5 separate regions of the Homo sapiens genome follow, and all the other regions are linked to region 5. The links are contacts of gene promoters, found by promoter capture Hi-C in blood cells and fetal thymus (Javierre and others, 2016). All regions are on one chromosome and are shown on one strand. The core of a region is centred on a gene start or on the middle of the fragment in contact, and the rest is flanking DNA. Distances in the headings are between cores, read along the strand shown.

Region 1 (2,700 bases), core at 164-2,663, 3.7 Mb before region 5:
TACTCAAAAAGTTTCAACGAGTCATTTAAGAAAAAATAATTTTGTAGAAACCACGTGCATTCTTGCAACAGAGGTTGCCCTATACACTAGCTATCTCAACTGCTACTATAATAATTGTATTCCAATTCTAATGCAAATTAAAGGACTAATTTGAAAGGGTAAGAATGGAAAAAGCTATACAGCATGTTGCTTTTTATATCTAGTCTTAAAATGAACACCGGGCAAAGTTTACTATTTTCAGTACTTACTGCCCAAAGACAAGGATTAAAAATCACTAAGAACATAACATGATACATTTTAAAAACTGTGGTCAAGTGGTTATCATTTTTAAATGGCAATGCTTTCCTGCTCAAATTCTTTACAGATTATACCACCTCTCAAGCCAGTTTTGGTCACTTTCTTCGAATTGGAGCTTACTGATCATCCCGGTTGGGTTCTAATAGAGCTGGTCTCTGAGCTGAGCCTACTTTTCAGCCTCCAGCCCCAAGAGGATATAAATACAGATAAGTACAGGATCGAGGGCTGAGGGACGCGCCACACGCAATACCTAGAGGTCTCAAAAACAGGAAAAAAAAAAAAAAGGCAGAGCACAGGAAAACGAAAGCTGAAAAAACACTGCAAAGCAAATACGTCCTCTCCTGGCCCACATGCTGGGTATAGCTGGATCTGTCAGCTTCGAGAATAGTTAGACAACCCTGGCCCATTGTTCCTACAGCAGGCTAGAGCATTTGGAGGGAAAAATACCATATCCGGCAGGGCCCGGTGGCTCACGCCTGTAATCCCAGCACTTTGGGATGCCGAGGCGGGTGGATTGCTTGAGGTCAGGAGTTCGAGACCAGCCTGGCCAACATGGTGAAACGCCGTCTCTGCTAAAATAAAAAAATTAGCCGAGCGAGGTGGCGGGCGCCTGTAATCCCAGCTACTAGGGAGGCTGAGACAGGAGAATTGCTTCAACCCAGGAGGCAGAGGTTGCAGGGGTCTGAGATCCCGCCACTGCACTCCAGCCTGGGCGATAGAGTGAGACTCTCTATCTCAAAAAACAAAACACCTCCCCCACGTCTCCCTCTACCGAGTAACAATCGGGAGAGAGTTCATCCTCAGGCCCAAGGCACGCCGGACCCGAGCGAGCAGGCGGGCGCGCAACCGCAGGGCGGACCGGGGCTCCGAGGCCTAGAGTCAGGCCTGGCGTCCCTGCGGCGGGAAGAAGGGTCAATCCACCGACTAGAGTGGCGGGGAGCATCACGCGGCGCTGCATGGGGCTCGTGGGGAGGGGAAAACGTATGGGGCTGGGGTCGCTCTGGAGGCCGGGGACTCGGACTCGGGTAGCCGCGGAGGCCTTTCTCACCATCGCGCCAAACTCTCTTCGCTACAGCAGCTGCCGACACCGCCGCCGTTACACGAGCTTAACTACAACGCCGCTAACAGCCAATCCTCGCGAGAGGAGCCGCCGGAAGTCGTCGAAAGTGCAACGCAAAAGAGCCTTTTGGATCATAGAGGCACAGTCACTTCCGGCAGCTAGAGCAGCTACTGACTCTGTTTCAGCCATCTTCGATAAAGGCAAAAAGGTAAGGGAAAGTTTCCAAGCTTTAGGAAGAATTATTTTTTTTCAAGACGCTGTCTTCCGTACTTTCGTTATTAAACATACGGCTCAAGTGATCACCGGTATAGACAGTGACATCAGACATCTTTCATTAGCCCTACTCAAAAATGGCGGCAACGTAAGTATCCTGGGCCGGAGGTCGGTTGTAACCCGGAAGTGCCTTTGTAAAGGAGGGGGTGGTTAGACAATCCGGAAGTGGATGGAATGAAGAGATGCCACTTGGCGGCCATGGCAGCTGTAGTATCGGCGACTCCGGGTCAAGGCCCGGTCGAGTGCAGTACCATGGGCAGCACCGGGTATAGGGCAGAGACAGCTTTGTGTCAACTTTGCTGCTGAACCCCTAGGACCCATCGTTAGAGACCTGCAGGACTCCTTTCCTCATCCCAGGCTCGGAGGAGAGTTTGCTGGGACTGGTGGGCTGGTTTCCTGCTCTGGGGGGCGGATCACCTTCGGGGCCGCCTCTTGGAGACAGGGGCGCCTAGGGAACGAACAGGTTCGCTTGAGTCACTTACCCGCCGCCGCCTAAGACATTGTGCCACCCTCAATCCGACAATCGAAGAAATCGATCATTCGCACATTTTCCCCATTGACTTTTCCCATCTCTGTTAACCCACGAGAATCTAATGACTGGCATCTGAGAACCCAGAGCCTGGGACCTTAGATTGCTGTAAGCTTTCTCTGGTGCTAATATCAGCAAAAAGGGTCTGTTGCCGGGTACGTTCAAGAGGAAGGTGCCTCGTGAACACATCTGCTGGTGGGAAGGCCTAAAGAACTGGAAAGCCCACTCTCTTGGAACCACCACACCTGTTTAAAGAACCTAAGCACCATTTAAAGCCACTGGAAATTTGTTGTCTAGTGGTTGTGGGTGAATAAAGGAGGGCAGAATGGATGATTTCATCTCCATTAGCCTGCTGTCTCTGGCTATGTTGGTGGGATGTTACGTGGCCGGAATCATTCCCTTGGCTGTTAATTTCTCAGAGGTAAGAAATTCTCAATTTTCTGTCAGCTGTCAGGATGGCTGTGAGATAGTAGTTTTAGTTGCAAAGGGAAGCTGCTTCCCTAGTTAAATCTCAAAGCTGAAGGTCTCATTAAGAAAGACT
Region 2 (2,700 bases), core at 132-2,631, 4.6 Mb after region 5:
CATTCCCTGATGGCTGACATTCTAAAAAGCATGTACATATTATGGTAAAATGTAGGTAAAAGGAGCTGAATGAGAGTCTGAAGCGCTCTGGAGAGAAAAAGTATATTATTATTGGGGTGTGGACTTTCTGTATTTTGACAACTCTAAGACCACTTTTTTTCCCTAACAAATGAAGGTGCTGAAAAGCTGAGCTCAAGTATGCAATCATTAACACTTAATACTGTAGCATCCCAATTTTATCAGAGCTGTTAGGAAGCTTGGAAAGAATGCCTCATCTAGACATCTGTGGACAACACCAAGAGCAAATTAAGGGACTGCATATCCTCAACGTTAAAGTGGATTGTAAAGAAAGAAAATATAAATTGGACTACAGTTTTGGTTCCCCGTTTTCCCTCTTGCCTGTTATGTTCCCTTAAAAAAATAATTTTTAAAAAATCTATTTACTTGAGAACAGGTTATGAGACTGGCTAATTTTTTGTATTTTTGGCGGAAACGGGGGTCTTGCCATGCCCCAGGCTGGTCTCGAACCCCTGGGTTCAAGCGATCCACCCGCCTCGGCCTCCGAAGTGCGGGATTACAGGCTTGAGCCACCGCTCCCGGACTGTGTTCCCCTTCTTAATCTCCATGGGGAAAAGCTGAGAGAGAGAACGGTGCCTGTATTCCATATATACTTGTTTGCCATTTATTTTCAACACGGAGGGATTCTCAGAATCCTTCAATGACCTCCTTCTAAAAGAGCCAGAGGAGAAGACAGGGACTAGTTTTACGCACAGTGGCTTAACAAACAGCGCCGCATCCCTGTCAGTTCTGGGATTCCTCGGGAGTGGTTTTTTTTAAGCTGCAGAAGTCTACCCTACCGTCTACAAAGACGTTCTATGGGGTTTTACAAAAACCCAAACAGAAATGTGAGGAGACAGTTACAGTAAGAAATAAACACGGATTCCCAGGCTCTTTTGACTGAGCGCCCCCGCCAGGAATGGCCGCCTAAAGAAACAGGCATCTCAACGCTTTATTGCTAAGTGTGACGGTTAGTGGGGAGTTCGACTCTGCAGCCAAAGGAGGTCAGGAATCGTTCAATAACAATCGGTCTGGAGGTGAAAAGAGGCGAAGAAGACACGTAAGTCCCTCCAAGACGCGGGGCAAAGCGATGGAGAGACGCGCGCCACTCCTCTCTCTGTACCTTTTGGGCACCAGGACCCTTGCCACGGGCTGCGTGGGCCGCCGAGAAGTCGATGACCCCTTCCAGGTCTGCGGTCCCGGGCCGGCTCTGACGGTAGAAGCGGAAAAGTTTCCGAAAGGCGTCCTCCCCGGGCTCAGTCGCCAGAGTCGCCACAGAGCCCACGGCCGCTGCCATCTTCCCCATCTCGCGGCCTATACCCTCTGATCCGGAAGCAGATTCTCTCGTGTTCCGGATCCGGAAATTTTTTCCGGGGCCGCGACCTCGGCTCGAGAAGGTGCTTTAGTCTGAAGATGGCGGCCTCAGCAGCGAGAGGTGCTGCGGCGCTGCGTAGAAGTATCAATCAGCCGGTTGCTTTTGTGAGAAGAATTCCTTGGACTGCGGCGTCGAGTGAGTGATGGAGATGTGGGAGTAGTGGAATTTTTAGGTCCAAGTGATCCTCAAAGCTTCTGCTTTTTGCAGGGTACTTAAGTCAGCGTGGTGGCTGAATTAGGAGACTGCTCCTGAGCATGCAAGTGAGCAGAAAGAAATTTTGTTTGCAGTTAACCGTTTAGGGATGTCCCTTGAGCTTTTGGGGTCACGAATGCACCGGCTCTTGCCTTTAGGAGTGATTTGGTGTAAAGATTTATTACTTGGTAACCAAGATTTACAATTTAGAAGGGATAATTTTGACTGTAGTGTGGAGGATGGATTCAAGGTGGCAAGATTGTAGGCGTGCAGAGGAGCTAAAAGGCAATTTCATTAATTTACTTAAAACGTGAGGACCTGAATTAGGGCGATGGTAGAAGGATGGTGGTCAGATGCATTAATGTTTTAAAAGCAAATTAGATGCCGTTTCGTGATGGCTTAAGTGGGAGAAGTGTACGGAATAAAGGAAAGGGAGAAATGATTTCTGGGTTTTTAGCATTGGTGAATTGTTTGTTTAGAAGTTAGGAGCAGGCCAAGAGAAGATGAGTAAAGTTTGAATGTGTTGACTTTGAGAAACTTGTGAGGTTTCCGTCAGGCAATTGGACAAAGGTTGTATATCATTGTGGCTGAGAAGTGGACTCCGAAGCTAGACCGTTGGGGTTAGAATTCCAACTTGGCCATTTAATCGTTGTTATCACTTGAATAACTGAAGTTAGTATGGGAAAAGGGCTCACAACTGGGCCTCAGTTTACTCATCGATAAAATGGAGTCAATAATACCCAACTCATAGGATTGTTGAGAGGATTGAGTTTATATGCAAACTTCTTAGACTTGTGTTAGATACAGTGTAAGTACTCAGCAAATGATAGTTATTTTCACGGTAACTAAAATTGAAACTTACGGGAGAGGCCTAGTCTACAGATAAAGGTTGGAATAATTAGTTCTGAAATCTTTCACCACCTTCAATTTTTGTCAGCTGCAGTTTTGAGATGAGGTTTTTATATTTGCTTACCAACATGTAAACATTCGTGGTCACTCTTTTTGTAGATATTCATGTTTCAGGTCAACCCCTGGAAACAAAATGGAGCAAGATTTAGTTTCTTCTAAGTTTTTAG
Region 3 (2,700 bases), core at 62-2,561, 3.3 Mb before region 5:
CTGCTGTTGGCGCAGGCGCGGTCGAGGCGTCGCGAGATTCTGGCTTCCACCCGCTGTGACGCGCCCGCGAGGCCGCCATTGGGCTGGCTTTGCGGAGGGCGCGGGCGGCTCCGCCCGCACTTCTCGGCCTTTCCTAACTGCGGCAGATGGGAGGGGGCCGGAGAGCCCGGAGAGTGTGCGGCTGCGCAGTTGGAAAGGTGGCAGTGGGCGTTGCGGTTGCTGCGGTCTGGGCCCAGTAGCGGACCGTGTTGGGAGGGAGCTGGGTTTTCATTTTGTCTGCAGGTAACCTGGCCTCATTAGAGGCTCTGTTGGCAATCTCGTTCATAACATCACTGTGTAAACATTTTATGCCGTTGATGTTTTTGATTGTTTAATCAGGCGTTTCTCTGTGACAGTCATTGCTATTATCTCGATTGAATTACTTTCTAATAGGAAGTACTAGCCGGACATCATGAGTGGCTGTCGGGTATTCATCGGGAGACTAAATCCAGCGGCCAGGGAGAAGGACGTGGAAAGATTCTTCAAGGGATATGGACGGATAAGAGATATTGATCTGAAAAGAGGCTTTGGTTTTGTGGTAAGTATTTAGAACTGGGTGAATTATCTGCTAAGTAGGTAGAGTTTTGATAAGCAGTTGTTTTCGATCTTGAGTCCGGGTGGAATATTTGCCTTCAGAAAATGTTACCCAGCCTTATGTCTGAATTTTATTGAGGCTGAAAACAACTTTAACTTGCCGGCTCACTGGAACCCCACTCCCAGTGGCTCCTTGATTAGGTTTGACTGTATGGCAGTGTCGTTAAGATACTCTTCCCATTCTGTCTCCTGATTTCAGTGCTCTTAATGTGTTGTAGAATACTCTTCTAAAGCCAATGTTAAGAGTCTTATGCTTACATTTTAGGAATTTGAGGATCCAAGGGATGCAGATGATGCTGTGTATGAGCTTGATGGAAAAGAACTCTGTAGTGAAAGGTGAGATTCCTGTGTAACTAGATAACCCTGGGACATAGAGCAGACTGGGTCTGCTGGCATATTTTTCTAAGTAGATTTATGTAGCTTAAGTGTGTAACGGAGATTTTTCTTCCCTTTTTGTAGGGTTACTATTGAACATGCTAGGGCTCGGTCACGAGGTGGAAGAGGTAGAGGACGATACTCTGACCGTTTTAGTAGTCGCAGACCTCGAAATGATAGACGGTATGTGAAGGGTGGATGGCTGCATTGAACAATTATTGTAGGGGTAGCATTTAAGATTCAGGAGTCATTAGCAGTGATGATTTTGGGTCCTGCCGTATAATCTGTTCTTCTATTCCCACGTTAGCCAGTTGTTCTTGATGAATCTATATGAGTCATAGAACACAAATCTATTGACGGAAGTCATTAGAATGGCTTGTGATATCTGATGGCTTGAACTTGCCCACAGTTGAACACAAGTGCTGTCATTGCATTTCTTCCATTGTGAATACGAATTTTCTTCCTCAGAAATGCTCCACCTGTAAGAACAGAAAATCGTCTTATAGTTGAGAATTTATCCTCAAGAGTCAGCTGGCAGGTTTGTTGAAATACAGTTTTGAGTTATTTTGATGTGGCTTTTTAAAAAAGTTAATGGGTAGCTAATGTTGTATTGTTTTATTAAAAGTAGTTTTAAATTAATGGATTTAATGGAATTGTAATTTTAAACATTTAATTAAATGTAATTTGGGGGATATTTTGAACTTTAATATTAGTGATCAAATGTAAATGTTTTGAGGATATTTTTCTTGTTTTTTAAAATCAATTTTTAACCAAATATTAAACCCTTTATTTGCCAGCCTGTCTGTGTCGTTGGCCTTATGACGAGGAGTGCCTGTGGGTTATCCTAATCGTTGTCTTGGTCACTCTTGGTTGGGCCTGGTTGACTTTGCCAGTCAGCTCCTACAGTGATCAGTTGGCCACCTCTAGATCTGTGTTTGCCGGTCTAGACGTTATCGGTGCACTTCCTTGAAGTGCCAGGTTGCAGCGATCCCAGAGCGTTGATAACGTGATCTGATCCCTAAGTTGAGACCTGTCTTCCTGTAACGCTTCCGAATAAGAGGTCCGGTCGAAAAGAGTTGAAAGATACGAAATTAGGTGGTCGTTGGAATCCTGATCGCAGTAAAGTGGTCCTTGGTAACTGCTCGAGTAGAACATGTCTGCATCCGCCAATAGTCCGCTAATAGGGAGGGCTGTGCGATTAAAGGCTTCCATCGATTGGGTAGTGTCCTTCAAGTGGGTGGCGAAGAGCCAGTCGGGCATATGTCATGAAGGTTTCTCCGACCGATTAATGGTTTGCTGCTTGACTAGCCTAGGGAAATAATAATAAAGGTAAAGTAAACTTTTTTAATGACATATGGGGCACAAAATAACTGGTGTCTTGTAAATGTTCTGTTTTTTTAAATAAAACTTCTCTACTTTAGTCTTTACTTTAAAAATATGTACTGTTTCCTTTTTTGTTGTTTTTTTGTTTGTTTTTTTTTCTTTTGTACTGAGCTCAGCATAGACTAATACTACCTTAATGTTAAAATCTGAATTTCTTTTAGCATTTTGCTTAAAAGCAATATGCTATTTGCTTATTCCGTGCCCTGACATAGATAATTTTTGAATTCTGATAGAATACAAGTGTGGTAAATGCCATGTTTGTACTTTATCTAACATCTTCTCTTTCAGTAGTCTTGTTTTTTTTATATC
Region 4 (2,700 bases), core at 4-2,503, 4.0 Mb after region 5:
TCACTCTGTCCCCAAAACAAAAGCCTTACATGGTGTAGGCATATTACTTGTTGGTAAAGCTGACTACTAACAAGTACACCCATACCCAGTAATACATTAGAATTACCTGTGTCTAGAGGACTAACGTGATTAACCACGACCTAGCAGCACTTACAAAGGCCTGGATGACCAGTATAAAACAATTCCCCACTATCTAAATCAGCACTGTCCAATATAACTTTCTGCGATGCTGGGAATGGGCTATATATAATCTGCACTGTCCAATAAAGAGGTCACTGAGCTCCTGAAATGTGGCTAGTACAACTGAGAAACTTATCCAGTCGTTAGTGACCATCTTACTGGACAGCTCAGCTCTTGAATCTGCCTCGACCCGTCAACTCTTTAAACTCGCCCATGTCCTCTTTTTCACTAGCGAAATAATTCTTTTTCTAAGTAACCTTCACTGATTCAAGGCATCAGAACGTCAACTGATCCCAAGCCCTTTTTTTCTTTAGCTGTTACACACGTGTGTTCACCGTGAACCTTCACCAAGAAACAGCATCCATATAAAACCCATAGCACATGACAAAGTCAGTCAAACATCAAAGGTCATGAAATCATCTACTTAAAATAACTCATCGCGCCTCGACCTCGTGAAGCACGGTCTCGAGGGTGGACGGGAACAAAAAACAAACAGGGCGACAGGCGTAGAGAAAATGCGAGGAGCACGCGGGGAGGTCTGGCACCCCTGTCACGGCGACTCCAGGCTGAGGCCGCCCGCACGCCCGCTCTCCCACGCCGGGCACTGTCGCTCCCGGCACGCGCACAGGCCGGACACGACTCGCCCCGGCCCCCACCCCCAACGGCGGCACGGCGGCACGGCGGCACGCACCAAGACAGTGCGAGAGTCGCTCCTCTCTCTGTATCGACTCCAAGCCGGCCCCACCCCCGGCTCCTCTGAACCCCGCCTGGAAACCTTGCCCAAGCCGCTCATTGCTCAAGGCCCCCGTACAAAATGGCGGCGAGGCCTGAGGAACCAACCATAGAGACGCCCGCCGGCCGCGGACAGAGCGTAGGCCTCTGAGCGCTGGCCCCGCCCCGCGCCGGCCTGGTCTTCCGGCGGGGGCGGGGAAAGGGCGCATTTCCAAGGGCCCTTCTAGGAGAACAGCGTGCGGTCTCCATGGTGCCGGGTCATCCGAGTCGGGTCACGTGGCTGGCGAAAGCCGTCGCGGAGGCGTGGGGAGGAGAAATGGGCGGGAGGCTGTGGGGATAGCGAGACACCCAGCGACGACGAGGTTGTCATGGTGCCGCGGGGCCGTGCTCGCGCATGCGCCACCTGACCCACAGGCCGGTCGTGGAGCTGCGACCCCGGCCCTAGGTGAGAAAGGGAGGGCTCGGTCCGGGAGGAGGGGAGCAGGGATGACGGCGGGAGAGGGATTGGGCGAGGAGCGTGGGGAAAGGAGGTGGAAGTAGGGGAGAGAGGAAGAGGAGCGAGTAGGCAAGAGGGGCAAACCGGGACTTTCGGAGGACGGAGAGCCAAATGGTGGGAGCAGGGCTTTGGTTTGCTGTGAGGGGCGTGGGAGAGGGAATCGCGGGTGAGGAGGGGGCTGCGTGTGGGGAGGAGGCTTGTGTGAGGGGCAGGTGGGCCCTGGTCTAGCCCTGGGCGCAACCGCCAGCCGGCTGGGCGGGGAGAGAGCTTGGAGTCCAGCCCGGCTGGGAGCTGAGGGCCAAGCAATGGGCAGGTGAGTGGGCGCCAGAACTAGTAACTGGGCGAGGGTCCTGGGCTTCCGGTTTGAGGTCGGGGGTGGTACCCTGTTCTGGCTCCAGGGCACAGGTGTGCTGCCTTTTCCAGAGACCTGCCGTCACCCTCGTTGCTGGTTGTTTCCCCTGAGTGGCCAGCTTGCCAGGCTTGGTGTCGGGGGTAGTGTTTCTGGGGAGAAGGTGGGCAGTGCCAAGTAAGGAGTTAAGTGGTTAGTGGGTGGGTTCGGGGGAGCTCTGATCCCGGCCCAGGTCACAGGCTGGAGCTAGGCTCCCTGTTATTGCTCAAGTCCTGGCAGTATGCATTGCCTGGGCGTTTGCCCTGGAAGGCTGGTGGTATGCCAGTCACAGCACAGTACTAGGGTCTGCCCAGTTTTGCCCTGCTGAGCTGGCAGGCTGGTGGATGCCTGGAGGGTGCACATGCTGCCTGGCACAGATGCAACGTGGGCTGGTGCGAATGGGTAGGTGGGCACTGTTACTGTGAACTAATTGCAGCAGGGGATCGGAGAAAGTTCTCTAAGCTCATCTCCCCTTTGAAAGGTGAAAATAGAGCCAAACTGGTCTAAAACATAGGAAATTGTATGGAATTGGGGTTCAGGATCTTTGACACGAATTTTCAGCCAAGTTGGAGAAATGGAATGAATGTGGAAGGGAAGATGAATATTAGACATTTAGGTAGACAGGGTTTTTCCACTGTTAAGATACCCAGACATTCTCCCAGAATGGTATCCCTGAATATGCAGGCCAAAAGAAAATGACTTCGGAGAAAAGCTAGTAATGTATTTATAATTCTAACGGGGATTACTCAAGGTTTTCTTTCTGTGACCTTATCACTTTATTGTATTTAAGCCTCTGGTTGGGCTTTTACCTCACACTTCTGTCCAGGCACACATGTTATACACGTGACACATTTTAAAGGGAACTTGAGCTTCCAGGAATGTTGCCAAGTGTCTATAAAAGGAG
Region 5 (2,700 bases), core at 17-2,516:
CCTGCCTCAGCCTCCCGAGTAGCTGGGATTACAGGCGCCTGCCACCACGCCTAGTTTATTTTTGTATTTTCAGTAGAGACGGGGTTTTGCCATGTTGGCCAGGGTGGCCTCGAACTCCTAACCTCAGGTGATCCACCCGCCTCGGCCTCCCAAAGTGCTGGGGTTACAGGCGTGAGCCACCGCGCCCGGCCGGTAATCATTTCTGTCACTCAACAAATATTTATTGAGCGCTTGCTATGTACCAGGACCTGTTCTTGCACAAAACAGGCAATCCATGCATTGCTTACATTCACATTCTAGTGGGGGTAGTGACGGACCATAAAATCAGCAAGAAAAATGTATGTTATGATAGATGGTTATGAGTGCTTTAGAGTAAAATTAAGTAGGGGAGGCAGGCAGGAAGTGTGTAGTATGTTTCAATTTTATATTAGGCTGGTCATGGTTTGTCATCTATTTCACCTGGCTCACAGTTCTTGCAGGACAGGAACAAATCTCACTTCCATTTGCCTTCATACTTCCAGCACTTAACACAGCACCAGGAACTCAGGGAGGCAATAACTTTATACTGAATCCGTTTTATGCCTTCCTAGAGGCAAGCAGTTGAGAAAGGCGTGTAACTAGATATTGCCTATAAGGTCCACAATTGGAATAACGTAATCATTTATGATTAATTTTATTCATTTCCATTAACTTAAGCTAAGTTCTTTTAGCACGTTTAGATTACAGAACGAAAGCTGTGTTAACTAGTATTACAGGACTTTTCACGTTTTTCCAAACATCTTCTAGCCACCTCTTTGGCCCTACAACTACGCATAAGCTTTTGCTTTTCAAAAAACCTCCACAGCCTTTGCCAATTATTTGTTGATCTCGAGTAGTTGTTATAACAGCACTTGGGGTTTAACACTAAGGTTGCAGATCGCGCCCAGTTATCAGTTCCTCGAACCTCAAGGAATCACAAAGCAAGGTTCCACCCCCCGAAAAACTACGAAAAGTGAGAAAGCCTCTAACACTCCTCGCGCCGTGCCCAGCCGGAACCTTGACCTCAAGATGGCGTCCCGTAGTCGTAAGATTCAGTCGGCTCCAATCAAACATGGTGGGTCATAATTTACAGTTCGGGCCTTTCTAGTAACCGCTAGACGCTGCTTCTCTATGGTTATTCGTCTCGGCTTGGTGAGTCAGAGCCAACAGCGGAGACGATCTATATACGTTCTTCTCTATGGTTCCGCGCTCCCCGCCCCCGGCCGCAGTGCACGCCGGGCAAGAGGAAGACCTCCATCAGCTCGCCGCGCAGCGCGGCTGTATTTGCGGCCTGTGCGAGTAGGCGCTTGGGCACTCAGTCTCCCTGGCGAGCGACGGGCAGAAATCTCGAACCAGTGGAGCGCACTCGTAACCTGGATCCCAGAAGGTCGCGAAGGCAGTACCGTTTCCTCAGCGGCGGGTGAGTTTGTGTCTCTGAACGCGTGTGGAAACCGGGAGACCGGGTGCCTCAGCTGGTGGAGGAGGAAAAGCCGGGGTGGCTGCGAAAGCGCCAGGGTGGGGTAGAGGTAAGGGGGAGCGCGGAGGCGGGGGTGGGGGAGGGGTCGGCACGAGGCTTGGTTTCTTCTCTTCTCTAAGGCCTGGAAAAGCTGTGGGCCCAGCCGTAGCTGGTGGAGGCCAGACCTACGGCTTGAGCTTTCCGTCTTGCATTGTCGCCCACTTTCCCTTTCCCTTCCACGTTCCGCCGCGGAGTGAATCGTCTCTGCCCCCCCTGGGCTCCACGTTAGATACAAAACGATCGATCTGCCCCAGGGGAGCCCTTCCCTGAGCCCCCTTACTTACCGGAGCCCCACAGTAGGTTTTCGGGCCTGGGACACTCTCGCCCCAGCCGTTGCCTTGAAGTTAGCCTCTACCCACCCTTTTTAGCGAGGTGCTGGCCACCAACGGATATCTTTCCCTTCCTCTTTGGCCATCTAGAGCCCGCCACCAAGTGAACTGGGCCCCACCCCCTTGGAATTGAGCTAATACCTACCTTTTTAGCAGTCTCCTGGCTTGCTTAAGATAGTCATGAATTTTGCCATCCTGCCTCTTTTGCGCATTGGAGGGTGCAGTAAACTGTATATCGCCATTCATTCTAGGCGATTACTAAGCTCCACATTAAAATGTTACTTTCTCATTTTTCTTTGGTCGTCAATCCTGCTTTTAAATACGGTTTTCCGGAATAGACGTAGGACTATGAAGATTTTTCGGAGGTTATGTAATATGGATTTGTATTGCCATGGAAATGCCATTTTGATACTGGGCAGAGTGGAGCCAAGAGAAGGGAAGAGATTGGACCTCTGTTGCACCCTACTGCTGTATTAGTGTGAAGTACTCTGTGTATTAGGCCGTGGGCAGTAATGTATAAATAATTTTTGTATAGTCTTTGGAGCTTTTAATTTTTTTAAAGGCTATTTCCAAAAACATTCAGAGGACTTGAAAGGGATTAAGTTGGTCATAAGTTACTCATGATTCAAGTGAATCTTATAGTATTCTAATTCATTTAACTTAAAGCCTTGGTTTTTCTTTTTCTTTTTTCTTTTAAGCTTTGGTTTTTGTTCCTCTGTAAAATGAATTTATAGTAGTATCTATACGTTATTGGGGTTGGGGATTGAGAAAAACGTATGTAAAATCCTTCGTGCAGTATCCAGGTAACACACATAAGCATTTAAATCTATATTGACA

What was found. The method cuts DNA at HindIII sites, captures the fragments that hold promoters and counts their contacts. A CHiCAGO score of 5 or more calls a contact.
Region 1: a contact is called between the fragment with the promoter of ERH here and the fragment with the promoter of RBM25 in region 5, in 3 of 17 cell types (naive CD4 T cells, non-activated CD4 T cells and total CD8 T cells). The highest score is 12.6, in naive CD4 T cells.
Region 2: the fragment with the promoter of ALKBH1 here is called in contact with the fragment with the promoter of RBM25 in region 5 in 1 of 17 cell types (non-activated CD4 T cells); the score reaches 5.1 in non-activated CD4 T cells.
Region 3: a fragment that was not itself captured here is called in contact with the fragment with the promoter of RBM25 in region 5 in 1 of 17 cell types (naive CD4 T cells); the score reaches 6.0 in naive CD4 T cells.
Region 4: the fragment with the promoter of CIPC here is called in contact with the fragment with the promoter of RBM25 in region 5 in 2 of 17 cell types (non-activated CD4 T cells and total CD4 T cells); the score reaches 7.4 in non-activated CD4 T cells.

What each region holds. Positions count from the first base shown.
Region 1 is chr14:69,396,886-69,399,585 of GRCh38, forward strand. ERH (ERH mRNA splicing and mitosis factor) reads right to left here and starts at 1,414. Exons shown (of 4, transcript NM_004450.3): 1 at 1,346-1,414. The coding sequence starts at 1,348. It overlaps SLC39A9 (solute carrier family 39 member 9), which reads left to right and starts at 1,807. Exons shown (of 7, transcript NM_018375.5): 1 at 1,807-2,580. The coding sequence starts at 2,485. RefSeq lists enhancers at 414-922, 923-1,430, 1,632-2,700, 1,760-2,099 and a silencer at 1,423-1,663. The HindIII fragment of the contact is 2,829 bases long and covers 1-1,582 here.
Region 2 is chr14:77,706,642-77,709,341 of GRCh38, forward strand. ALKBH1 (alkB homolog 1, histone H2A dioxygenase) reads right to left here and starts at 1,382. Exons shown (of 6, transcript NM_006020.3): 1 at 1,181-1,382. The coding sequence starts at 1,363. It overlaps SLIRP (SRA stem-loop interacting RNA binding protein), which reads left to right and starts at 1,462. Exons shown (of 4, transcript NM_031210.6): 1 at 1,462-1,567. The coding sequence starts at 1,471. RefSeq lists an enhancer at 1,016-1,345. The HindIII fragment of the contact is 1,367 bases long and covers 255-1,621 here.
Region 3 is chr14:69,767,706-69,770,405 of GRCh38, forward strand. It overlaps SRSF5 (serine and arginine rich splicing factor 5), which reads left to right. Exons shown (of 8, transcript NM_001320214.2): 2 at 433-577; 3 at 899-969; 4 at 1,093-1,191; 5 at 1,477-1,546. The coding sequence starts at 452. It overlaps LOC100289511 (a long non-coding RNA gene), which reads right to left and starts at 8. Exons shown (of 1, transcript NR_029378.1): 1 at 1-8. RefSeq lists enhancers at 1-317, 314-363. The HindIII fragment of the contact is 6,506 bases long and covers 1-2,700 here.
Region 4 is chr14:77,097,005-77,099,704 of GRCh38, forward strand. It overlaps CIPC (CLOCK interacting pacemaker), which reads left to right and starts at 1,254. Exons shown (of 4, transcript NM_033426.3): 1 at 1,254-1,357. It overlaps LOC124903350 (a long non-coding RNA gene), which reads right to left and starts at 1,014. Exons shown (of 2, transcript XR_007064275.1): 1 at 872-1,014. RefSeq lists enhancers at 485-534, 896-1,725, 1,865-2,024 and a silencer at 715-864. The HindIII fragment of the contact is 10,027 bases long and covers 1-2,700 here.
Region 5 is chr14:73,057,268-73,059,967 of GRCh38, forward strand. RBM25 (RNA binding motif protein 25) reads left to right here and starts at 1,267. Exons shown (of 19, transcript NM_021239.3): 1 at 1,267-1,438. RBM25-AS1 (RBM25 antisense RNA 1) reads right to left here and starts at 2,186. Exons shown (of 2, transcript NR_184256.1): 1 at 2,009-2,186; 2 at 1-1,490. RefSeq lists enhancers at 544-1,508, 580-1,779, 832-1,371. The HindIII fragment of the contact is 1,744 bases long and covers 816-2,559 here.